4 separate regions of the Homo sapiens genome follow, and all the other regions are linked to region 2. Evidence: promoter capture Hi-C in 16 types of primary human blood cells and fetal thymus (Javierre and others, 2016). All regions are on one chromosome and are shown on one strand. Each heading gives the region's core, a stretch centred on a gene start or on the middle of the fragment in contact. The rest is flanking DNA. Distances are from core to core; before and after follow the strand shown. Region 1 has its middle 3.1 kb from the start of ADGRF1. Region 2 holds the start of PLA2G7 (phospholipase A2 group VII). Region 3 has its middle 120 kb from the start of ADGRF1. Region 4 overlaps ADGRF1 (adhesion G protein-coupled receptor F1).

Region 1 (2,763 bases), core at 229-2,728, 310 kb before region 2:
CTTTTTCTTTGGATATTTAGCAAGGGTCAGACACTTCTATTTGTATTTTTCATCTGTCTTTAGGAAGCAGTAGAGAATAGTGTGACAGAACAGACTTTGAAGTCAGGTTGTGTTGATTTTCTGGCTCACCATTCACTTAACTGCTCGATGCCTTCACTCCATTGTCTATAAAATAGGGTTGCAGAACGTATAAAAACACATGAAAAATGATCACAACAGTACTTGGCACATAGGAAGTACTCCGTAAATGTTGGCTGATCCACCACAAAAAAAAAAAAAGAAAGAAACCAACAACAAAAAAAAGAATGAGATCTTGTCATTTGCAACAACGTGGATGGAGCTGGAGGACATTTAGTGAAATATGCCAGGTAAAGAAAGACAAACTTCACATGTTCTCACTGATTTGTGGGAGCTAAAACTAAAACAATTAAACTGATGGAAGTAGAGAAAAGAATGATGATTTCCAGAGGCTGGGAAGAGTAGTGGGCAGTGGGGGAGTGGGGATGGTTAATGGGTACAAAAATATCATTAGGTAGAATAAATAAGATCTAGTGTTTGATAGCACAATGGGGTGACTATATTCAATAACAATTTACTAAACATTTAAAAATACCTTAAAGTGTATAATTGGAATGTTTGTAACACAAAGAAATGATGCTGCATAACCGCAAAGGTTTGAGGTGATGATTACACATTGTATGCCTGTATCAAAATATCTCATGTACCCCATAAAAACTTATACCTACTATGTGCCCATACAAATTAAAAACAAAAAATTTAAAAAAAAGTTTGCTAAGCCAGGAACTGTGACTTACACCTGTAATTACAACACTTTGGGAGGCTGAAGCAGGAGGATCGCTTTGAGCTCAGGAGTTCAATACCAGCCTGGACAACATGGCAAAACCCCGCCTCTACAAAAAATACAAAAATTAACATTGGTGGCTCACGCCTGTGGTCCAAACTGCTTGGGAGACTGAGGCTGGAGAATCGCTTGAGCCCGGGAAGCAGAGGTTGCAGCGAGATGAGATAATGCCACTGCATTCCAGCCTGGGCGACAGAGTGAGACCCTGTCTCAACAACAACAACAAAATGTTGGCTGATACTAAGTGCTTGGTAGTTCTTCTCTTCCTCTAATTAGCTGTCCAGGTCTCAATTATAACACAATGCTACCCTACCCCTCTGATAAAAGCAATTTCTCATAAGTCACAGTGTCCAATGCTTGTCCTTAGGTAGCTTCATAATTTCAAACCCACCTCTCCTTATCTTAAGCCCTTGTTCCGAGTATGAAGAGCCTGTATCAGCTTTGATAAGACTTTTATCATAGTAGTCAGAAGAATCGTCTCGCTGAAATTTACAGTTTATACTCAACTCTTCTCTTTTTTACTCCTCCTTTCAGTTAAAAAAATTATACTTGCAATATATACATATACATATATATAGTGCTTTCAAACATTTTGCAACTATGGAATAAAACCACCTGAAACAGTCCAGGGTCTTTCACACTCCTGCATCATCACATCACTCAAGTCTGCCGTTTGTGTTTGCAGCCCCTGGGGTAAAACTTCTTTATGACCAAACTCAAAGAATGTCCAGCACTTCTGATGTATGGACATGGGCATCAGGGTCCTTCTGTAATTGGGTTCCTGTCCTTTTCTGGTTCACCTGCTGATCTGTCTAATTTAGATATTGTTTCACACCGAGTACTCACTCAGGGACAGTTTGTTGACATATGAATTTAGATAACTAGTTTCAATAACATGATTCTGTTTGCATTTTCTTTCTCCCAGGACTCAGGCTTATTGCTGTTTATTTGTGGGACCCTGCTCTTTTGCTTGGAAACCAAGCAACCAGACTCTTCACTAAACCAACACCAACAGATGAAGTTAGAAGGCTTGAAGCTCTTCCTCAGCCCCAGGCCTTTCTTCTTCTTCTTTTTTTTCCCCCCAGCATTTGTGGAATGTAAAGTTGACCAGATGAACCAAAATAAATTTGTTTACCTGGCTTCTTATGCTCAAGTGAACACCTTGTTCATGCCTGTGAAACATTACAATCAAACTAGAGGGGCAACAAAGCTCCACAGCTCTGCACTCAGAAGGTTGGCTTTGTCCTGAGCTCTTAAGGTAATAAGATGTCCGAATGCTGCCACAGTGCATAAACCCATGCTGCTTCCTTTTGCACTGTGTCCTTTGCAAGGACCAGAGAGCTCCTCAAACTCACCAGGAAGTACTGAGGAATTTAGTGTTGCGTGCACTAACAGATTCTTAGCAGGAAATTAGAAGCGGTGAGTAAACTGCTTTTTGGTGAGTCATCAGTTTCAAAAACACACCTTATTTATGAAACAATCTGAATATTGGACGTACTATGACTTCCTTCTATTAAACACGGAATTAAAAGACTATTAAATGCATTCATCTGTTTGGATTCAGATTTTCTCCAAAATCAATGTGCTCATGGAATCATTGATGTCTACCGGTTGCCTCACCTACTAGTGTCTGCTAAAGTGTTTTTGGTCTAATGAGACAATGTAGGGTTTCCTTTGGTTCTGAGGGCCATACCTTGGCCCTAGGAAGTTGTTGGGCTGCAGTGACACAATGAGCCAAAGGTGGATAACAGAGCTTCCATCTCAGCTTCAAGCCCTCACCACCTTAAACTCCACACTAGTTGGTCATTTCAACTGTTTCCACCCAATTCCATGGCCACTTTCTTGCTCTAGTGATTAGTAGATTATTAATTCCATTTTATAAACACATTCTTACTAGGATG
Region 2 (2,808 bases), core at 70-2,569:
GCTGTTCTCAAAGCTTACCACCTTTTTAGTGTGGGATTAGGTCTTCAACTTCAACTTTGTCTTCACCTTTGTCTTAAGGTCAAAAGAAGACGTTAGAGATGTCTTTGGTAGGGCATAATGTATCCTTTTAGATTGATATTTGTGGGCCATTTGTTTTACAGGGGGTTAGTCCAGGAAGTACAAGACAATGTCATTAGGCGGATAGAGTTCCATTTAAATTAAAAATAAAATCTATTGTTAGGTTTAAATGAGTCACTGCTTCATTAAGCTATCAATATTAGATAACACATATTGAATGAATGTTTCCCATAGGCCAAGCTCTGTCCCAAGCATTTCACATGTATTTGCATTTCGTGCTCACAAACTGCCTCTGACTGACTGATTTTGATTTTCTTGATTTTATGGATGAGGAGACCGAGAAGCAGAGATGATGAACTTCCCCAAGGTCACACCACTCATAAGTGGGAGAAACAAGCTAAAATTCAGGCCATCTTACTGCAGAATACTCAAAATCAAAATAAGCAAAATTTCATCTCCAGTTCTGGCACCTCACCAAAAACCAAAACACGATTTAAAAATATAAAATTTTAATAACACCACACATAAATTTCAAACTACTTTCCCTAAGTTTCTAGCTGAAGTTTTAAATGAGTGTGTTTTTAATTTATTAGAAAGTGGATTGAAGAGAAAACATTGGAAGATGAAGGAAGGCGTTTCAGTTAAACCCCAAATAACTCTGTGTTACACTGAGCTATGAAACGGCTCCTTCTAGCTCCATTTCTCCTCAGACCTAAGTGCTATTCCTGATTGTCCTTCATTGTCATTTCCAGGGAGAAATGACACCAGCACAGTGGCAGGCCTTCCAATCTGGAGCACGGTCCACACAACTTCCGAATTGGTGTTCAGTGTAAAGTGTATCGGAGTGCGGAAAATGCGCAGGGCATTGCCAACTATAGATGCTCGGAGTAATTCAGTGTATTCAGAGAACACGGTGAAACAAGGAAAACCGGCCTGACTGGGGGGTGAATTCAGCAGGGAGTAAATCTGATCGGCATCAGGTCTGCGGAAAGGAGCTGGTGAGCACGACACCACCCAGGCATTGCCTGGCTCTCTCCGCGGCGGGCTAAGTTAACCGCGGGTCCAGGTGCGGGCCATGGTCTTGGGGAGGGTGCTGGGTGCGCTCGAGCAGGCTAGCGTCGGGAGCCGCCGCTGCTAGTGAGAGGCCGGGGCCACACACGCTCCTCCCCGGTACCTCCTCCAGCATCACCAGGGGAGGAGAGGGTCGGGGCCACAAGGCCGCGCTAGGCGGACCCAGGACACAGCCCGCGCGCAGCCCACCCGCCCGCCGCCTGCCAGAGCTGCTCGGCCCGCAGCCAGGGGGACAGCGGCTGGTCGGAGGCTCGCAGTGCTGTCGGCGAGAAGCAGTCGGGTTTGGAGCGCTTGGGTCGCGTTGGTGCGCGGTGGAACGCGCCCAGGGACCCCAGTTCCCGCGAGCAGCTCCGCGCCGCGCCTGAGTGAGGAGGGGCCCCGGGGGCGAGGCGGGAGTGGGAGGAAGGGCACGGTCGCCGCGCTGGAGGTCGGGACCCCGGAGCGGCGACCGGCCGGGGTGGGCTCGCTGAGTCGCACCCGCTCTGCTGGCCGGTCCTGGGCTCACAGTCCCTGCAGCCCTCGGAAACAGCGCTAGGATCCTTGCGGGGAGAGGGAGAGGATGACGGTATTAGACACCAGTTCTTCCAAACCTTTTCCCGAAAGGAAGCAACCCTAAGAGCTCAGAGCTGGGGGGAGAATCAGGACAGGCAGGGAACACATGGAGTTTTCTTTTCTTTTTTTTCTCTCTCTCTCTCTTTCTTTCGTTCCTTCTTTCTTTCTTTTGAGGCGGAGTCTCATTTTGTCGCCAGGCTGGAGTGCAGAGGCGCGATCTCGACTCACTGCAACCTCTGTCTCCCGGGTTCAAGCAATTCTCCTGCCTCAACTTCCCGAGTAGCTGGGACTGCTGGCGTGCCGTATCACGCTCGGCTAATTTTTTTGAATTTTTAGTAGAGACGGGGTTTCGCTGTGTTCGCCACAATGGTCTCGATCTCCTGACCTCGTGATTCGCCCGCCTCCGCCTCCCAAAATGCTGGGATTACAGGCATGAGCCACCGCGCCCGCCCCGGAGTTTTCTTATCTGTAGATCTCCTACAGGGACAATCTCTCTCTCCGTCTCTCTCTCTCTCTCTCTCTCTCTCTCTCTCTCTCTCTCTCTCTCTCTCTCTCTCTCTCTCTCTCTCTCTCTCTCACACACACACACACCACTACACACCTCTCACTCTGCCTCCTCTCTCTCTCTCCCTCCGCTCTCTCTCTCACACACCCTTCTCCCTCTCTCCCTCTCTCTCACTCTCCCTTTGAGGAGTATTGCGTTTTTGGAGCCCAGTTATGCGTGGCTGCTGTAAGAACAAAACAAAGCACTCTTTGTCCTACCTGGAGCATCCCCCTGCCGGCCAGATAAGATCACAGCTGTGTCACCAAGTCAAGGGAGAGGCTCATTTTTAAAAAATTAAGCAAAATCAGAAAACAGAGAACACTGTCTTCCTCATCATCTCCTGGAGCTTGTAAGAGAAATTTCTGTCACCAAAAACGAAAAGTTCGGGCTTTTATTCATGCCTGTGGTTCTTGGGATTACTGCAGTGGTGATGAGGAAGGAGAGGTGCGTATGGCTCATAAATGGCAGCTTGCCACCTTTAAAAGGCACACGGATTCAGATTTGGGATGTGTTAACAAATCAGGCTTGCACAAATTACTTTTGATCCAAATGAGAATGCTGAG
Region 3 (2,700 bases), core at 142-2,641, 430 kb before region 2:
CAGTACCAGATCTGTAGACGCTTACAGCTCATGGGCTTCCTTGGGGAAATTTCAAGCTGATTGTAGTCAGTATTCTAGGCACATTTCAGTTTTATGTAACCTCATCTCCCATTCTCCAGGACATCTAGCACTCTCCAAATGACAAAACTTCCTAACTTTCAAAACAGTTTTTTAGATGTTTCATGACAGCTAGTAGCTGGTAAAGTCTGGGAAGTAACACCTTTCTATGGTCTCCTTGTTGCCTTCATTTAGATGCAAATTCTGCTCCTGTGATTCCTTTTGGCCTGCAACATAAAGAGTTTCAGTCAATGGATTTTTCCTCTCTTCATTCACAACACACATACGTGCACACTCACGCACACTAGTGCACTGAGTATTCCTCCCTCTATCTTTTGAAAAGAGTCCCACTTTTCTTGGGGAAACTCTTCTTTCCCTATTCCATGTGATCTGCTTAGAATGAATGATCTTTGTGGCTTTGTGTCATTCCAATGGTAGTGACCAGCAGGGCCTATGGATTAGTCCCAGTTACCAAGATTCCCAAAGCTGTTCCCTTCCCATCCTTCTGAGTGTTCAATACTATATTTTATTCTGTGAGCTATCCAGGACTTATTACTGAACTTCTTTTTTTGCTTAAGTTTATCAAGGTCCATTTCTGTGGTTTGGGATCAAGAAACCTATTGATTTGGAATGAAACACCATTTTGGAGGGCCTTCTCTACCCCAATTTTTCTGAAAGTGATAACATCATAATCATGTTGCTTAGCAGTCAAGTCTTTCCTAAGGAAGGATGATATATTGTATGGGATATTAAAAGCTTACTGCAGTTAGTACTAGCCTTATTCTTTTTACTGTAGGAATTCAGGTTGTATAAGCAGCAAAACTTCTTAACTTGCTATGTGATTTTTTAGGTGATTGGTAAAATTAAGCCAACTAGTAGAATAGATGGAGCAGTTTCCAGCCTGAGTACTCTTTAGAGGTTCGTGAAGCAAAAAGAGAGCATCCAGGCCCTCTGGTCCTTGCCAGCTGCAGCAGAGTGGGTGGCAAGAATCACTAGTATTAGGGCTAGCCAGATGCACAGACAGCTCAGAGGGAGGCATGCTGGGGGTGCAAGGATGGGGAGAAGGGAAGTTCAAACTCAAATGGTATTTCTTTGAGGTTGACTTGGAGACAATTCTGTTCTCTATCATTATGAATAAGTGGAGAAAAGTAAAAATGGCATTAACTAAATTTGATAATGGTACTAAATAAGGTAATATGCTTAGTAGTCCGGAAGACCAGAGAAAAATTAAAAATGATCTTAATGGTCTTATAGAAACAAGGTGGTATTACACAGGACCTGGACTCTCCCCTTAAAAAACTTAAAAGTATTTTAAGGGAATTGATCACTGACTGTTTAAAGAGGAAGGAAGGTAGCACAATATAATAGAAAGAGGGACTTTGGGGTGGCTGAGTGGGGTGGCTCATGCCTATAATCTCAGCACTTTGAGAAGCTAGGCGGGCGGATTGCTTGAGCTCAGGAGTTTGAGTCCAACCTAGAAAACATGGTGAAATTTTGTTTCTACTTAAAAAAAAAAAAAGGGTACCTGTAGTCCCAGCTACTCAGGAAGGTGAGATGGGAGGGTTTCTTGAGACAGGGGATGGAATTTGCAGTAAGCCAAGATTGTGCCACTGCACTCCAGCCTGGGCAACAGAGTGAGACCCTTTCTCAAATAATAAAAAATTAAGGAAAAAAGAAAGAGGGACTTTGGAGCCAAATAGATTTACATTCAAGCCCAACTCTACTAATAACATGATGATGTCAGCCAATGGCATTGATTAGGAATATCTTTGGGTTGCAAGTCACAGAAACCACAACCAGCAGTTGCTTTAGCCATAAATGAACATTTAATTATCTCATCTAACATGAAGCCTGGAGCTAGTTGGTACCAAATTACATGAAACAACTCATTGATATCGGAATACAAGCTTGGCATCTTTGCAATTTTCTTCATTGCCTCCTCTTAAACACAACATGGCATCAATGACTCTAGGCATTAGGTCCTCATATGACAGATTTTGTAACCCCAAAATCAGTATAGGTGGCTTTCATGGTCATTTGCAGACATGCACAGAGCAAGAAAACATTTGAGTCATCTGATAGATGTGTTCCCAGCTGGGGTCAAACAGGGTGATGCTGTGCCTTCTTGTTTCAGTTCTTCTACTGTTAACAAGTTTCCTTTTTGTGGTCTATTTAAGGCCATGTTTTCAAATATTTGTGCTTTATGTTGGTGATTTCACTGTTTAAAATGGCCTCACTGCATACTGCTGAAGTTCTGTTTGATTTCCTAAAGAACAGGAAGGCTGCAATGTGTCTTATGGAGAAAAGACATAAAAGACATACGTTAGATAAGCTTTTTTTTTTGAGACGGAGTTTCACTCTGTCACCCAAGCTGGAGTGCAGTGGTGCCATCTCGGCTCACTGCAAGTTCCACCTCCTGGGTTCACACCATTCTCCTGCCTCAGCCTCCCTAGTAGTTGGGACTATAGGCATCTGCCACCACACCCAGCTAATTTTTTTTTTTTTTTGTATTTTTAGTAGAGACGGGGTTTCACCGTGTTAGCCAGGATGGTCTTGATCTCCTGACCTGGTGATCTGCCCGCCTCGGCCTCCCAAAGTGCTGGGATTACAATGTGCCTGGCCAGATAAGCTTTATCCAGGCCT
Region 4 (2,700 bases), core at 122-2,621, 260 kb before region 2:
ACCCGAGCCTTTGATTCATCCTTGCTGTTTTGAGAGGCCTAGGGAGTGTCTCTTAGCCTCCTGACATGGAAAGCCTTCATGCTATGCAAATAAAGACAGCTGGGGGAACTTCTAGTTAGTGGTGGTAGATTAAATAAGCATACCTGAGAGAAATTCAAAGTTAGACTTCCACAAGGCACCAAGGTGCAGCACACATGAAATATGAAAGTGAGAGGTTCAAAGGAAATGACTGAGGATCAGTTAGATGGTTCTATACCCCACAAATATGTATGAGAGTCAACAGAATTTTATGAGAAAGACTTCTTTGCAGAAAACTGCTCTATGAGCCTTCTCACTCTACCTACCCACAAAAGTGAGAGAAGGAGGAATGTCTGCTCCTTGACCTCAAATTTAGTGAGAGAAGATTTCTCAGATAGCTCAGATAGCTCAGATTTCTCAGAACCACAACAATTAGGATGCATGGCTGATGGAAGTCTGATTCTTGCCTAGAATTGTGGCCACAGCTCCGGTAGTAGAGCCCTGAATGAGTTCTGTGTTGAGAATAGCCTGTATGTCTAGTGTTTGTCAGGGCAATGGATGTGTGTGTTTCCCATGAACCATAGTGAGACATGCAAGAGTGAAGGTCAGCATGGGGCTCTTTTAGGTCCTCTCTGATAGGGTTGTCCAAAGAGGTGGAGGGAACCCAGCATCAAGAAGTGGGAGGTGAAGCCAGATTGTGGGATGAGGAAGGAGTCACAAATGACCACCTGGAATACAAAAAAATCTACACAAGCTAAAGATGAGAAGTCAGGGCTATGAGAATTTCTATGGGAGTTCTTGAATGCTCCCTCTCTTATTACACACAATTACTATCCAGAGAACCCTGACACCATGTGAAGGCAGCCCTATCTCATAAGACAGATTTCTTTTTTTGGGGACCTTGGGGAAAGGGAGGCCAGAAACCTCCGTGTCCAAGGTGGGGTGGAAGGAGAGGGAGAAATCTTAGCAAAAATGTCAACCAGCAAGGGAAGATGTGCTAGCGCAAGTAGGCAACTCAACACAAGACTCAGTTGGAGAGGGAAGAAAAATTTAGTACTAAATTATTGTAGTTTCTTCTTATTGTAGGCGACTGGGAGTCATAATTACCAAACTATTTAAAATGACCAAAATGTTGCTCTTACCTGAGTATGTTGGCATACAACTGGAATGTATCTGATGGAAGAAAAAGCTTCTCCCACTGAATAAATTTTATGAGGATGATGAGAGACAAAAAAATGTTTGATCAGATATCATGTATGTGCATGCTTGTCTAATTCACTGATTATGCATACATTCACCTCAAAATGCTACTAAAACAACAATAAAATAATGAAAAAGTGAATAGCATTGTAATAATTTTCTATTGCTGTGTTTTCTATTATAATAGTTTATTCCATTTCTGTTATGATAGTTTTTTATTGCTGCATATAAAATTGCTGCAAACTCAGCAGCTTAAAGCAACACACATTTATTATCTCAAAGTGGTCATGGGTGGATTCCATGCACAGCTAAGCTTGTACTTTGCTCAGGGTTACACAAGGCTGTCATCAAGGTACTGGATGGACTGTCATGTCATCTGGAGGTGCAGGTGGGGAAGAATTCACTTCTGACTCATTCAGGTTGTTGGCAGAATTTGTCCCCTTGTGGTTGTGGGAATGAGAATGGTGGCTTTTTGCTGACTATTGGCTAGAGTTCATCCTCAGACCCTAGAGGCCACCCCTATTTTTTTCACCACATGGGCTTTTCCAACTTGGCCACTTACAACATTAAGCCTGCAAGGACAGTCTCTAACTCCAGTCTGCTTTTAAGAGAGAGTCTTGTTTAATGTAAGATAATTAGGAGAGTGACAACCCATAACTTTTGCCATATTTCACAGGTTAGAACCAAGTCACAGGCCCTGGCCACAATCGAGAGGAGGGCATTTCAAAAGGTGTGAATGCCAGGAGGGAGGGATCACTGGAGGTCACAGACATGAAATTCCAAAGATTGGGAACAAGAGAGGAGATAACAGCAACACACCTTTGGAAAGCAGGTGGGGTGGTGTGAACTGACTTAGAAGACCTGAGAAAGTTAAATATTAAGCCAGTGGTGGGGAAAAACAAGAAGCAACCTACTTTACACTGCAGAATCCCCCAAGAGACTTAAGACTTTGCAGCACCAGGTACCTTAAGAATTTGGATGAATATGGGACTGAATAGTAGATTTGGTTGGTTCAAGTTCAATTTAGGAAGCATCTGGTCCCCCAGGTACCTCTCTAATCCCAAGTAGCCAAGCAAATGTCCTTTCCTTCATCCTACTAATAGATTATATGGAGATGTGGAAAAAGATGGGATATTGGGACTGAGAGACAGCAGAATCAGTTGGGAGAGGTTTTCCCATCCTGAAAACAAAAGGTTTAGTGAAAGTTGACATATAACAATGGCAGCAAGTCTTACATTTTTAAGGCAAGAGTCTTGTATGAGTCCATTCTCATGCTGCTGATAAACACATACCTAAGACTGGGTAATTTATTTTAAAAAAAGGTTTAATGGGCCCACAGTTCCACATGGCTGGGGAAGCCTCACAATCATGGTGGAAGACAAAGGAGGAGTAAAGGGACTTCTTACATGGCAGCGGGCAAGAAAGGGAGTGAAAACGATATGAAAGGGGTTTCCCCTTGTAAAACCACCAAATCTTTTGAGA

Evidence for each region. The method cuts DNA at HindIII sites, captures the fragments that hold promoters and counts their contacts. A CHiCAGO score of 5 or more calls a contact.
Region 1: a fragment that was not itself captured here is called in contact with the fragment with the promoter of PLA2G7 in region 2 in 1 of 17 cell types (M2 macrophages); the score reaches 5.2 in M2 macrophages.
Region 3: a fragment that was not itself captured here is called in contact with the fragment with the promoter of PLA2G7 in region 2 in 1 of 17 cell types (M0 macrophages); the score reaches 5.0 in M0 macrophages.
Region 4: a fragment that was not itself captured here is called in contact with the fragment with the promoter of PLA2G7 in region 2 in 1 of 17 cell types (M2 macrophages); the score reaches 5.3 in M2 macrophages.

The regions. Positions count from the first base shown.
Region 1 is chr6:47,044,089-47,046,851 of GRCh38, reverse strand. No RefSeq gene overlaps it. Among named protein-coding and RNA genes, the nearest start is that of ADGRF1, 3.1 kb to the right of the region's middle. RefSeq lists an enhancer at 1,408-2,607. The HindIII fragment of the contact is 3,188 bases long and covers 1-2,763 here.
Region 2 is chr6:46,733,886-46,736,693 of GRCh38, reverse strand. It overlaps PLA2G7 (phospholipase A2 group VII), which reads left to right and starts at 1,319. Exons shown (of 12, transcript NM_005084.4): 1 at 1,319-1,514. The HindIII fragment of the contact is 14,792 bases long and covers 16-2,808 here.
Region 3 is chr6:47,165,567-47,168,266 of GRCh38, reverse strand. No RefSeq gene overlaps it. Among named protein-coding and RNA genes, the nearest start is that of ADGRF1, 120 kb to the right of the region's middle. The HindIII fragment of the contact is 1,151 bases long and covers 816-1,966 here.
Region 4 is chr6:46,996,368-46,999,067 of GRCh38, reverse strand. It overlaps ADGRF1 (adhesion G protein-coupled receptor F1), which reads left to right. Exons shown (of 15, transcript NM_153840.4): 15 at 1-1,360. Among named protein-coding and RNA genes, the nearest start is that of ADGRF1, 45 kb to the left of the region's middle. The HindIII fragment of the contact is 324 bases long and covers 1,210-1,533 here.